Regions from separate parts of the Homo sapiens genome. Here region 1 is linked to region 2. Evidence: promoter capture Hi-C in 16 types of primary human blood cells and fetal thymus (Javierre and others, 2016). All regions are on one chromosome and are shown on one strand. The core of a region is centred on a gene start or on the middle of the fragment in contact, and the rest is flanking DNA. Distances in the headings are between cores, read along the strand shown.

What was found. Contacts are between HindIII fragments. The CHiCAGO score rates a contact against its expected background, and 5 or more counts as called.
Region 1: a fragment that was not itself captured here is called in contact with the fragment with the promoter of DPY19L4 in region 2 in 1 of 17 cell types (megakaryocytes); the score reaches 6.6 in megakaryocytes.

Annotation. Positions count from the first base shown.
Region 1 is chr8:94,568,440-94,575,640 of GRCh38, forward strand. It overlaps VIRMA-DT (VIRMA divergent transcript), which reads left to right. Exons shown (of 2, transcript NR_183271.1): 2 at 1,671-2,211. Among named protein-coding and RNA genes, the nearest start is that of VIRMA-DT, 18 kb to the left of the region's middle. The HindIII fragment of the contact is 6,738 bases long and covers 1-6,071 here.
Region 2 is chr8:94,717,595-94,724,223 of GRCh38, forward strand. It overlaps DPY19L4 (dpy-19 like 4), which reads left to right and starts at 2,306. Exons shown (of 19, transcript NM_181787.3): 1 at 2,306-2,420. The coding sequence starts at 2,405. RefSeq lists an enhancer at 1,399-2,353 and a silencer at 2,114-2,433. The HindIII fragment of the contact is 11,065 bases long and covers 1,752-6,629 here.

The DNA of each region.
Region 1 (7,201 bases), core at 1,453-3,952, 150 kb before region 2:
GGGAGTCTAGCAGACTGCCAGCTGCAAGACATTCATCCAGCATCAGGAACACAATGGGCCTTCATTTGCCTGCCTTTCTGAGGGCACCAATCAAAAGTAACAGCTGCCACCTTTTTCTATGAGACTTGATTATAATTTTCTATGGCCAAGGGTTTGCTGTGACACTTCCACATCATTCTTCAGTATGTAGTCCAGAGATTAGCTACAGATTCAAGAAACACAGACTGTAAACTATTATATACAGACATATCTCAAAATAAGCATACCCATTAGTGCCAGCTGCCCTGAAAGACTGAATGACCCCAGCTATTTTCCAAATGTTTTTTCAGAAAGCCATGAACACACCTTTCTGGGATCCTATCTATTTCAAAGACAGGCAAAGCTCTGTGGTTCAGTTCCACCACCCAGTACCAAGCCCACAGTATGCAGACCATACGCCTTACACATGGCCTTTTCTCTTTATGTAATTGCTGTACCATATTCAGCAGATCTAGACTGACTCAAAGCATGTTCCCTCAAGAAGCTCCACAGAAAAAAAGGTTTCTGTGATCAAAAATCATTTGGGAAATGCTGCAAACCCTATCTGCCTCTTAGAGCTTAACCATGCATGTCGGGGCATAATATAAACCTTTTCCAGTCTGGGCCACAGAGTGAGACCCCACCTCTAAAATAATAAATCAATAAACTCTTGAGAAGTACACAGAAAAGAAACTTCTGTAACTTTTTAGGTCTTAATTACAAGCAATTGTAGCTTAATCTAAACTTGCTCTTCACTTTATTTCTATGCTCTTGAAAACTAGTGACATAAGCCTTATGAATTTTTTGTTTGTTTGTTTCTTCTTTTTTTAAGAGAGAGACAGGGTCTCATTCTGTTGCTCAGGTTGGAGTGCAGAGGCACAATCATAGCTCACCGTAACCTTGAATTCCTAGTCTCAAGTAATCCTCCCATCTCAGCCTCCCTAATAACTAGGACTACAGGCACATACCACCACATCTGGCTAGTGTGTGTGTGTGTGTGTGTGTGTGTGTGTGTGTAAAGACAGGGGTCTCATTATGTTCCCCAGGCTGGTCTTGAACTCCTGGGCTTAAGCGATCCTCCCACCGCAGCCTCCCAAAACTTTGGGATTACAGGCATGAGCCACTACACCTGGCTGGATTATTCTTTCTTTAAAAAAATTTTTTTGGCCGGGCGCCGTGACTGTAATCCCGGCACTTTGAGGGGCCGAGGCGGGCGAATCACGAGGTCAGGAGATAGAGACCATCCTGGCTAACACGGTGAAACCCCGTCTCTACTAAAAAAAAATACAAAAAATTAGCCGGGCGAGGTGGCGGGCGCCTGTAGTCCCAGCTACTCGGGAGGCTGAGGCAGGAGAATGGCGTGAACCCGGGGGGCGGAGCCTGCAGTGAGCCGAGATCGCGCCCTGGGCGACAGCGAGACTCCGTCTCAAAAAAAAATAAATAAATAAAAACAAAAATTTTAAGCATAAATACAAAGGTTAGGTAGATTTAAAGATGGCCGGTAGCATGAAGTGAGCTGTCTAAAAAGTTGCTTTTACATAAGAACTTTATGTTACTTGATGAGCAAGTATTAATTGGGCTCTCTGTCTCTTCTTCTCTCTCCCTCTTTCTCTCTCTCTCTCTCTCTGGATCCACTTTCCCTCCTGCATCAGGGAGTCTACTCCTATGTAAATCTTCTGCAGGTTGTGCAGTGGACTTCACCTAGTCTCCCATCTCCAGCTAATTTGGCCAAGAATAGTCACCTGGCGCAAGGTGGGGAGGGAGCTCTCAATTGGCCAGCAACTTCTGACGTGTGACCTGACTGAACAATGAGAGGCTCGAGTGAAATTACCAGCTGGTAGTAGGACAGAGGATATAGATACATGGAATGGAGCTGAGCCAAATTAATGACAAAGGACTAGACAAGAATGACTGTTGATGATCACCTATGCTGAGATCACAAAGCTGCCCCGAGTCCAGAAGCAGGTTCACTGAGGGAGGCTCAACCATGTTACCAATCTTGTTTGAGATTAATGTTCCTTGTTGTAAACCTCAAGTCTGTTTCTTGCAATCAAACCATTCTAAATTGAAACAACTACTTAGAAAGTGTTTCTATGGGTTCAGTGGGACATTTCAACCAAATGAAATATGATAATGATCTTAAATGAACTAACAATAGTGTTGCAGAAATAAAATACAAATACCAGAAAGATAGCCAGGCACAGTGGCTCATGTCTGTAATCCCAGCACCTTGAGGGGCCCAGGCAGGAGGATCCCTTGAGGCCAGGAGTTTGAGACTAGCCATGGCAACATAGCAAGGCCCTGTCTCTATTAAAAAAATAATAATAATAATTTAAAAATTCGCCAGGCACAGTGGTGTGCACCTGTGGTCCCAACTACTCCGGAGGCTGAGGAGGGAGGATCACTTGAGCCCAAGAGTTCAAGGCTGCTATGAGCCATGATCACACCACTGCACTACAGCCTGGGCAACAGAGTGAGACCTTGTCTCTAAAAAAATACAAACAAAATACAGATTTAACCAACTCATGCCCAGCTTAAGTACAGAGTTTAAGAGTGTGCATTTAGAAACTTCATAAGTGTTTGGAATCCTTGAGTGTTTTATTTTGCTTTAATTTTGGTCTTCAGATTCAAAGGGTTATTGTTTGTTTGTTTGTTTGTTTTGAGACGGAATCTCGCTCTGTCACCCAGGCTGGAGTGCAGTGGCGCGATCTCGGCTCACTGCAAGCTCCGCCTCCCGGGTTGACGCCATTCTCCTGCCTCAGCCTCCGGAGTAGCTGGGACTACAGGAGCCCGCCACCACGCCCAGCTAATTTTTTGTATTTTTAGTAGAGACGGGGTTTCACCGTGTTAGCCAGGATGGTCTCTATCTCCTGACCTCGTGATCCGCCCGCCTCGGCCTCCCAAAGTGCTGGGATTACAGGCGTAGCCACAGCGCCCGGCCGATTGACGGCCATCCCGTCTCTACTAAAAATAAAAAAATTAGCCAGGCGTGGTGGCGGGCACCTGTAGTCCCAGCTACTCGGGAGGCTGAGGCAGGAGAATGGCATGAACCCGGGAGGCGGAGCTTGCAGTGAAGCGAGATTGCGCCACTGCAGTCCGGCCTGGCCGACAGAGCAAGACTCCGTCTCAAAAAAAAAAAAAAAAAAAAAAACTTTCCTAATGACCTCTTTGCTTCTAGTCTCGTATTTCAATTAGTTGTAAACACCATGGGAAGAGTAAACTTTCTGATAAATCTTTTCTTTACTTTTATTCTTCTTTCAAAATAGTCAATGCTCAGTTTCCTTTTCTAAACAAAATTTAATTAATTAATTAATTAATTTTGAGATGGAGTCTCTGTCTCCCAGGCTGGAGTGCAGTGGCACGATCTTGGCTCGCTGCAACCTCCGCCTCCCAGGTTCAAGCGATTTTTCTGCCTCAGCCTCCCAAGTAGGTGGGATTACACGTGTGTGCCACCATGCCTGGCTGAGTTTTGTATTTTTAGTAGAGATGGGGTTTCGCCATGTTGGCCAGGGTCGTCTCGAACTCCTGACCTCAGGTGATCCGCCCCTCTTGGCCTCCCAAAGTGTTGAGATTACAGGCATGAGCCACCACACCTGGCCCCTTTATTTCTTTTTAGTTTTTGTTTTTGAGACTAAGTCTCACTCTGTCACCCAGGCTGGAGTGCAGTGGCATGATCTTGGCTCACTTCAACCTCTGCTTCCCAGGTTCAAGCAATTCTCCCACCTCAACCTCCGGAGTAGCTGGGACTGCAGGTGTGTACCACCATGCCCAGCTAATTTTTGTATTATTTGGTAGTGACAGGGTTTCACCACGTTGGCCAGGCTGGTCTTGAACTCCTGGACCTCAAGTGATCTGCCCATTTCGGCCTCCCAAAGTAAGGGGATTACAGGCATGAGCCACCGCGCCCCGCCAGTGCTCAGTTTCAATTCTTTAGTTCATTCCCAGGTTACAAGACACATTTCACAGTGGAATTCAAGGCTTTCCTCCATCTGACCCCAACTGACCTCTTCCATTTTGTCTTTAGCGCCTTCATTTAAAGTCATCCACTCACTAAACATACTAGGCTTTCTGCCTTGGCTCAAATTGTTATACTCTTGAATGTGTTGAACTCTCTCTCGTCTTCTCTGACCATCTTAATTCTTATGTATTCTTGAGAAACTATCTAGTTCAAATTCTTTTCCAGGCTGGGCAAGATGGCTCATGCATATAATCCCAGCACTTTGGGAAGCTGAGGCGGGTGGATTGCTTGAGCTCAGTAGTCCGAGACCAGCCTAGGCAACATGGCAAGACCCCATCTCTACAAAAAAATACAAAAATTAGCCAGGTGTGTGGCTGTACCAGTAGTCCCAGATACTTAGAGGGCTGATGTGGGAGGATCACTTGAGCCTGGGAGATCAAGGCTGCAGTGAGCTGGGATCACACCACTGCCCTCCAGCCTGGGCAACAGAGTGAGAACCTGTCTCAAAAAACAACCAACCAAGCAACCACAAAAAAACACCGCCTGCACAAAAACAACAAATTCCATTTCCATAAGGAGTCATTGACCATCCCAATTCTCATTTATTCACTCATTCAACAAATACATAAAGAGCCTATCATATCCAGCTACTATTAGGCAAGGGAATACAACCATGAAAATGATGTAGTCTCTTCCTTCAAAGGGTCTGCAGTTTCTGGAGGAAAGGTTAATTATAATACAAAAATAAGTGACATGATAAAATACACAGTAATAGCATACAGGAACCCCTATCTCCTATTGGGTGTGGTGAACAGGAAAGTTTTTCCAAGTTCTGAAAGATGAATAGAGTTAGCTGGCAAAGAGGAGACAAGGGTATTTCAAACAGAGGACAAGAACATTATTAGAAGCACCACTGCACTCCAGCCTGAGCGACAGAGCGAGACTCTGTCTCACAAAAAAAAATGATAATAATAAAAAATAATTCATAGGAGGGGGCTAAAAGTCTGGATTTGGATTTTTGACAGTGGAAATGGAAAAGAAAGGAATGAGAATACACATTATAAGGAAGGAGGTTATGAAATTTTGGTTAATTAATGGTCTCTAATGATTAGCATGAGCATGTAGAACTCAATGTTTACTGATTATTTGACACTCTAAAATTCTGGTCCATACCCATAGCAGAAATAAAGGGTGAACAAGATGATGAGTTTAAAAATTCAGCTGTTTTAATAAAGTTCATTGTTAATTTTTTTTAAGAAATGAGGCTTTCAGCCAGGCGTGGTGGTTCACACCTGTAATGCCAGCACTTTGGGAGGCCAAGGTGGGCGGATTGCCTGAGGTCAGGAGTTGCAGACCAGCCTGGCCAACATGGCAAAACCCCGTCTCTACTAAAAATACAAAAAAAAAAAAAAATTAGCTGGGCCTGGTGGCACAGGCCTGTAGTCCCAGCTACTCAGGAGGCTGAGGCAGGAGAATCGCTTGAACCTGGGAGGCAGAGGTTGCAGTGAGCCGAGATTGCACCACAGCACTCCAGCCTGGGCAACGGAGCAAGACTCCATCTCAAAAAAAAAAAAAGGAAATGAGGCTTTCAAAAGTCATCTTGAAACTTTATAGCAAGACCTCATTTCTCCAAAAAAAAAAAAAAAAAAAAAAAAAAACATTACCCAAGTGCAGTGGTGCACACCTGTAGTCCCAGCTACTTAGGATGCTGAGCAGGGAGGATTACTTGAGCTGCAGTGAACTATGATCTCACCACTGCACTCCAGCCTGGGCAAGAGAGGGAGACTTCGTCTTAAAAAAGAAAAGAAAAGAAAAGAACATTTAGATGCCAGGCAAATGTTTTATTAGTACAAGGCCAGAAATGAAAATCTCAGGCAATTTCAAGGCCCAGTTGCAATCTACTGCCACCTACTGGGGAGTCAACTGGAGGCTGGAGGGGAAATGTATACTTTATTAATTATTAATTGCTAAACCTATTATACAAACTTATAGTTAGTTTCATAAGGTCATCTATTCTTTCAGATCTTTACTATAAACTGGAATTGTTGTATCACTACCAGATCATGGGCCCTATAGCTTTATTACTGACTGATCAAGCTTGATGCCTTATCCCATTTTAATTCTACTGCTTAGTGAGTGGTTTTAGGATTTCCTTAGGTTAAGAATTTCTTCACTTCTTAGGTTAAAACAGCAGCCAGGTGCAGTGGCTCATGCCTGTAATCCCAGTACTTTGGGAGGCTGAGGTGGGAGGATCATTTGAGCCCAGGAGTTGGAGACCAGCCTGGGCAACAGGCAACAAAGCAAGACCCCATCTTTACCAAAAGAAAAAAAAAATACACCTGGCACGGTGGCTCACACCTGTAATCCCAACACTTTGGGAGGCTGAGGCAAATGGATCTTGTCAGGTCAGGCATTCGAGACCAGCCTGGCCAACATGGTGAAACACCCTCTCTCCTAAAAATACAAATTTAGCCGGGTGTGGTGATGCAGGCCTATAATCCCAGCTACTCAGGAGGCTGAGGCAGGAGAATCACTTGAATCCGGGAGGCAGAGGTTGCAGTGAGTGAGATCACACCATTGCACTCCAGCCTGGGCGACAGAGTGAGACTCTGTCTCAAAAAAAAAAAAAAAAGAAAAAGGAAAAAAATAGTTATGATGGCATGCGCCTAAGGTGCAGCCTGGGTGACAGAGCAAGACCCTATCAAAAAAACAAACAAACAAAAAAAAAACCCACAGCAAAACTTTGCTAGTTGCTTTTACAAGGATGTTGTAAGAAACACTGGCAACACCAAATGTTGGTGAGGATGTTGGGCAACAGGAACTCTCATTAACTGCTGGTGGAAACACAAAATGGTACAACCATTTTGGAAGACAATTTAGCAGTTTCTTACAAAATTAAACATACTCTTACTACACAATCCAATATTCCATGCTTATTAGTATTTACCCAAAGGAATTGAAAATTCATATCCACATAAAACCTGCAGATGAATGTTTATAGCAGCTTTATTCATAATTGCCAAAACTTGGAAGCAACAGAGATTTTCTTTAGTAGGTGAATGGAAAAATAAACTGTTATATCTAGATAATAGAATATTACTCAAAACTAAAAAGAAAGAAGGTATTAAGCCATAAAAAGACATGGAAAAAACTTTGATTCATATTTCTAAGTAAAATAAGCCAATCTGTAAAGCCTGCATACAGTATGAGTTCAATTATATGACA
Region 2 (6,629 bases), core at 1,056-3,555:
TATAGATTTTTAATAAAAACAGCCTATTTTTCTCACAGTAAGATTACACTGGTTTGAGAATAAGATGCTCCACTCTCATTATCCTTATGTGTTTTTTGTTTGTTTGTTTTGTGTGATGGAGTTTCGCTCTTGTTGCCCAGGCTGGAATGCAATGGCATGATCTCGGCTCACCGCAACCTCCACCTCCCAGGTTCAAGCAATTCTCCTGCCTCAGCCTCCCGAGTAGCTGGGATTACAGGCATGCGCCACCACGCCCGGCTAATTTTGTATTTTTAGCAGAGATGGGGTTTCTCCATGTTGGTCAGGCTGGTCTCGAACTCCTGACCTCAGGTGATCCACCTGCCTCAGCCTCCCAAAGTGTTGGGATTACAGGCATGAGCCACCGTGCCCGGCCCTAATGTGGGTTTTTAGGGTTCAAGAGAAGAATGTTTCTACTAGGGCATAATTATCTCTATCTTATCTTATATTTCCATTTGTTATTTTAAGAAGCTATTTTTTTTCTATCATTTTTCTTTCCCCTGTTATTGTAGAGGTCAGGCAAACTTAAAATTTAGTCCATTAGTCAACTTGAGGTGACCGTGAAGAAACTGTAGGATATTAAGACTCTAGACTTAGAAAACAGCAGACCTCAATAGCTACTATATGTTTTCCAAGAGGTGCAGCTCTTTCAGTCAGCTGATCTGATAAGCAGCATACTCAGGTACTGTTGCTCATGTCCAGGGACCCTACCATATCCTGTGGTTTTCAGGGTCCTTATATTCTGTGCTCTCTTGGCTCTGGCACCAGGCCTTTTCTGGTCCACTGTTTCTAACTCCTGGTAAAGTGTTGTTTTAAGGCAAAAAACATCTTTACGGGGAACCAGACATAAAAAGAGTTCCTGGAGGCCCTGCGTGGTAGCTCATGCCTGTAATCCCAGCACTTTGTGGGGCTGAGGCCGGTGGATCACTTGAGGTCAGGATTTCAAGACCAGCCTGGGCAACATGGTGAAACCACACCCCTCCACTTCTCTACTAAAAGTACAAAAAATTATCCGGGCGTGGTGGTGGGCACCTGTAAACCCAGCACTTCGGGGGGCCAAGGTGGGCGGATCACTTGAGGCCAGGAGTTGGAGACTAGCCTGGCCAACCAACATGGTGAAATCCCATCTCTACTAAAAATATGAAAATTAAGTGGTGGCTTGCGCCTGTAGTCCCAGCTACTGGGAAGGCCGAGGCACGAAAATCGCTTTAACCTGGGAGGCGGAGGTTGCAGTGAACCTAGATCGAGTCATTGCATTCCAGCCTGGGCGACAGAGCGAGACTCTGTCTCAAAAAAAAAAAAAAAAAGTTCCTGGAACCGTTTCTGCACATCACTGAAAAATGATAGCCTCTCCCCAAATATCCTAACTTAAAGGTGCTATTAGGAGAATCTTGCTGCCTGCTAATAATGGGGTGTCCATAATTACCCCATGACTTCAGTGAATTCTCGTGCCTGTTTCTCCCGATCTAAAATGGGTATATTTCATTTACTAAATTTACTTCTGAGTACTGTTGGGGAAAAGATCCCGGTGTTTGTTGAAGAATGCTAGATATAATGAAAGTTAAACACAGTTTAACAAATTAAAATTATTCCCTATTGCTCTGTAATATCTAATTGCACACTGCTCTACCCCAGACCATTGTATTATCTCCCCGCCCCCCCCCCCAGAATATCATGAAATGCAACATATTTGCTAAACCAGTTTTGGTGATTTAAAACAAGTTCCAAGCACAAGCTTCTTTCTTGTAATGGTCAAGTGGCCTACGAAACCAAAGCGCCAACTGAGAACGTTTTGCTGCTGCACTCTGAAATCCCAGCGAGAACGCAGGCAGCGATGGCAGTTCTGGAGCACCGGGTTCCACTTCTGCCTCTGACCGGCTTTGTGACTTCCACCACATTAGATCTGAGTTTCCTCCATGTAAAATGGGGCGGGAATGGAGGCTGGACCTGGGAGGTGTCGCTGATGATCGTCTCTGACTCGCTAAGTCGCGGAGTCACAAAAGTGGCGGAAAGCATGCCCTCACTTTTTGGGAAGAGTAGGACGAGGGGCGGGGCTGCAGCGAGACCCACCAGTCTCGCTTTCCAGGGCAGGCGGCGGCCAGGAGCTACAGCTGTGGGCTGCACTCCCGGCGTGGAGTCTCCTTCCTGCCCGCGCAGGCCCCGGCGCCCCAGCGAAACGCTCCGGCCGCTCCCCTCTCCCAACACTCTGGTTCCCGGGCCGCCTGCGGGGACGCGGTTGGCGGCGACACCGGAGGGGGGTGGGTCAGGAAGTGGGGGCGCGGCGGCCAGGAGCGGGCCCCCGGAGGCCGAGGGGTTCGGCGACGCGGAGGGAGGGAGAGTCTGGGCCGCGCGGGAGCCGCAGGGCGCCCTAGCCTTCGCAGAAACGATGGCGGAGGAAGAAGGTGATTGCCGCGGGGTCCAGCGCGCCAACGGCTGCCAGTGGTCTCGGGAAGGAGGGGCGGGGGCGCTGGAGGTCTGGGTTGGAGCTGCTGGTGGCCGCGGTCGCGGTGGCGGCCGCGCGGGCAGGGCGGGAAGGAGCGCGGCGCCCAGGAGAGGACTGCGGAGAAATTCAGGAGAGCGGAGCAAATGGCCCGAAGTTTTGTCGGCCGAATTGGGAAGCAAAGGTGGAGCTGAAAGTTGGGAATCCGTAGCAAGAGAGAAAGCTGTGCCGGGAGTGGTTGGGAAAGAGGGAGGGTCCTGATCAGATTCTTGGTGAAGTGGGAGGCGCAGTTTGGTTTCGAAGATCAGGTTTAGGTACTCAGTGCATATTTGGAATGCGATTTTTAAAGGGCTGTGGATATTGACAAACCCAGAGGCACAGGGGGCGAGGGAACATTCACCACGGGGATAAAGAGGCAGGGATTTGGGATAAACGTGGCAAGATTAATTGGGAATGGGCGAACACGCAGAAACTGAAGAAAGCCAAGTTCACTTAGGTTCAGGGGAAAATGGTAAAGAGCAGAGCCATCTAATTATTATAGTTTTGGGAGATGATGAGGCCAGGAGGCCTTTGAGGGTCAAAGTGGGTGAGCTGGAGAAAGGTTTCCATGCCGCCTTCAGGATCAATGCTAAGATAAGTAATTCATTCAGCAGTATTTTATTTATAGAAAATGATAAGTATGAGACAAAAATGGGAAGTTAGATGAAACTTATCGGTTAGTGATAAACAATACAAGGAATACTCATGGCATAGTAACTTCATGATAACCCCTACTAGTTTCAGGAAGTGAGAAGCAATTAGATTTTTGCATTCTGGTGGAAAACACAACTTTTTACCTTATGAGTGGAGCTGTGGATGTGATAGTAAATCGATCTAATTTAGACTCAAGCCCCCCTGCCTTTTTTTTTTTTGAAACGGAGTTTCGTTCTTGTTGCCCAGTCTAGAGTGCAAAGGCGCGATCTCGGTTCACCGCAACCTCCGCTTCCTGGATTCAAGCGATTCTCCTGCCTCAGCCTCCCTAGTAGCTGGGATTACAGGCATGCGCCATCACGCCCGGTTAATGTTATATTTTGAGTAGAGACGGGGTTTCTCCATGTTGGTCAGGCTGGTCTTGAACTTCTGACCTCAGGTGATCCGCCCACCTCGGCCTCCCAGAGTGCTGGGATTACAGGCGTGAGCCACGGGTCCAGCCGACTCAAGCCTTTCTGAATCAAGAGTGCAAGGAAGGAGTTTAAAGGATTCAGCGGAAAGCAATTTTTAAAAATTAAGCATAAGAAGTGTTTACTGATGTGTGACTTGCTGACCTGTCCCTATGCAGGCTTGGTTCATATTTGTTTCCATTGAGTTTTCAGAGTGTTAAAGCTGGTCTGAATTTAAGACATTCTAACTAAAAACAGCTTCAAAAACAAAGCTATTTGTCGTTGGTGAGAAAGAATGTAATTCCATTTGTTTACTTGGTTCTGTCTGTGGTTACAGTATATCATCATTTGAAATATTTCTTGATGTATTTTTCTTTTCTAATTGCAAATTTATGGGGGTAGGTTGATATACTAGCTTGTAGGTTCCTATGAGTACATTCATGCTTAACTTAAAGCATTAAAAAAGTTAAGACTGCATTAAAAAATCAGTACTACAATACTGAAAGTCTTTAATACATCATGCAAAATGAAAAATTATTTTAGACTATGGTTGTACTTAAATAGATCTGTGGAGCCAATATTAAAAGATTGTACCGTTTTGTAAATTTTACTTACGTGATGTAAAATGATAAATGGGCGGGGCATGATGGCTCATGCCTGTAGTCCCAGCACTTTGGGAGGCCAAGGCGAGTGGATCACTTGAAGTCAGAAGTTCGAGACCAGCCTGGCTAACACAGTGAAACCCCATCTCTACTAAAAATACAAAAATCAGCCGGGTGGAGTGGCAAGTGTCTGTAGTCCCAGCTACTCAGGAGGCTGAGATAGGAGAATCACTTGAACCCGGGAGGCGGAGGTTGCAGTGAGCCAAGATTGCACCATTGCACTCCAGCCTGGGTGACAGAGTGAGACTCCATCTAAAAAAAAATAAAATTAAGGCCGGGCAAGGTGGCTCACGCCTGTAATCCTAACACTTTGGGAGGCCAAGGTGGGCGGATCACGAGGTCAGGAGTTCGAGACCAGCCTGGCCAATATGGTGAAACCCTGTCTCTACTAAAAAATACAAAAGTTAGCCGGGCATGGTGGCGCATGCCTATAGTCCCAGCTACCCGGGAGGCTGAGGCAAGAGAATCGATGGAACCCAGGAGGCCGAGGTTGCAGTGAGACGAGATCGCCCCACTGCACTCCAGCCTGGGTGACAGAGTGAGACTCCCTCTCAAAAATAAAATAAATAAAATGATAAATGATTTTTGGTTGTAGAATTACATATAATTCAAAAGCAGTTAAATACATCTTACATGGGACAATTAATGGGTTGTAATTTATTAAAATATTGCTTTATTCAACACATTTCTAATTCCATAAATATGTGTATTCATACCCTATTAGATGCAAGGATATAATAGTCAACAATGAATGAGTAAATTTTCATTTATTATAATGCTAGTAATAATAATACATATAGCAAACCTGTCTGTCTATGTGCCAGGCATTCTGAGTGTTTTATGTTTATTTGTCACTCTATACTTTTTTTCCCCCAGAATCCGTATTATCTTTTGTTCGCTGTGTTAAAATTAGACTAAATAGTCTGTGTATTTTACTTGTATCCAGGTGTTCTCCGCGTCCCATCTTGCTTACCATTCACATTCACTTGGATCCTCTTCATTGTCCAAGTAAATACTCTGGGAATCTGGTCTTTAAAAAAATGTCTTCCTTGATGCAGTAGAGGGCCAGGGTGTTTATATTTATGCTTTCTGAACGCAATGTTAGAGCAAAGAAAGAAGTGACAACCTTGAGTAGAGCAGTATTAACATTTCACTTGGAAACTGCTATGTCTAGCCTGGATAGACATTTGAAAGTCTGTTTGTAGCCCTACTGTTTCATATGAAGATGACTGGACTGAAGTCTGAAATAGCAGGTTACTTTTGTGGATGTGTAATCATCTTCATTTAGTTTGACTTTTTCTTTACAATGCTAAAAATATCAGATAGTGAAAAGGAGTGGCCGGGCGTGGTGGCTCACGCCTGTAATCCCAGCACTTTGGGAGGCCGAGGCGGGCAAATCACGAGGTCAGGAGTTTGAGGCCAGCCTGGCCAACATGATGAAACCCCTGTCTCTACTAAAAATACAAAAAATTAGCTGGGCGTAGTGGCGGATGCCTGTAATCCCAGCTACTCGGGAGGCTGAGGTAGGAGAATTGCTTGAACCCGGGAGGCGGAGGTTGTAGTGAGCCGGGATGGCACCACTGCACTGCAGCCTGGGCAAAAAGAGTGAAACTCCGTCTCAAAAAAAAAAAAAAGATAGTGAAAAGGAAACCTGAATTACATCGCAGAGCTTTCCTGTCAGAACTGATAATCTCATTTGTCCATTGCTTTGGCCTTTGCTTTTTTTCCACCTAGAGATGTGTGACTTTGTTTTTCCATTATGAAATTATATGAAAAGTTAGCTTTAGGGATAAGGTTGAAGAGATGAGCTAAAATGAATACTGTATTTATCGAGTCGTACTTTTGGCTCTTACAGTTTAATGCCACTAAAATTGATATGTCTTAAAATCAGTGCACACATTCAGTATGACAGTGTGGTTTTTTTTCCCCTTGAAAAACCTATTAAGTAGTATCTTCAAACGTATGGCATCTTAGAATCAGGAAAATATAATATTATAGATCTTTTATAGATTACATATTTGTATGGTCCTTGATCATTGCTAATATAAGTTCTTGAGAGATGATTGTTGAGATTTGTATACTTCATAAATTACTTGAAAATCTATGCAAAATGTTTGTGTAAGTTGTACTTTTATAAACAAAAATCATTTATGGACACAAAGAGAACATGTTTAATTAAAGTCCTGTAAAGCGATTTATTTGATAAAGAACATTTTTAAAAAGGAAAATGATAATTTTTTGTAAGAACACATTTTATGTGACTATTCCCCTCCCAATTTATCACTAAGTGTGTATTTTTAGACTCTAATGGAAAAGACCCACCTACCTAGCCCATTGGTCACATATAGTATATTTGTTGACTATCTCAAT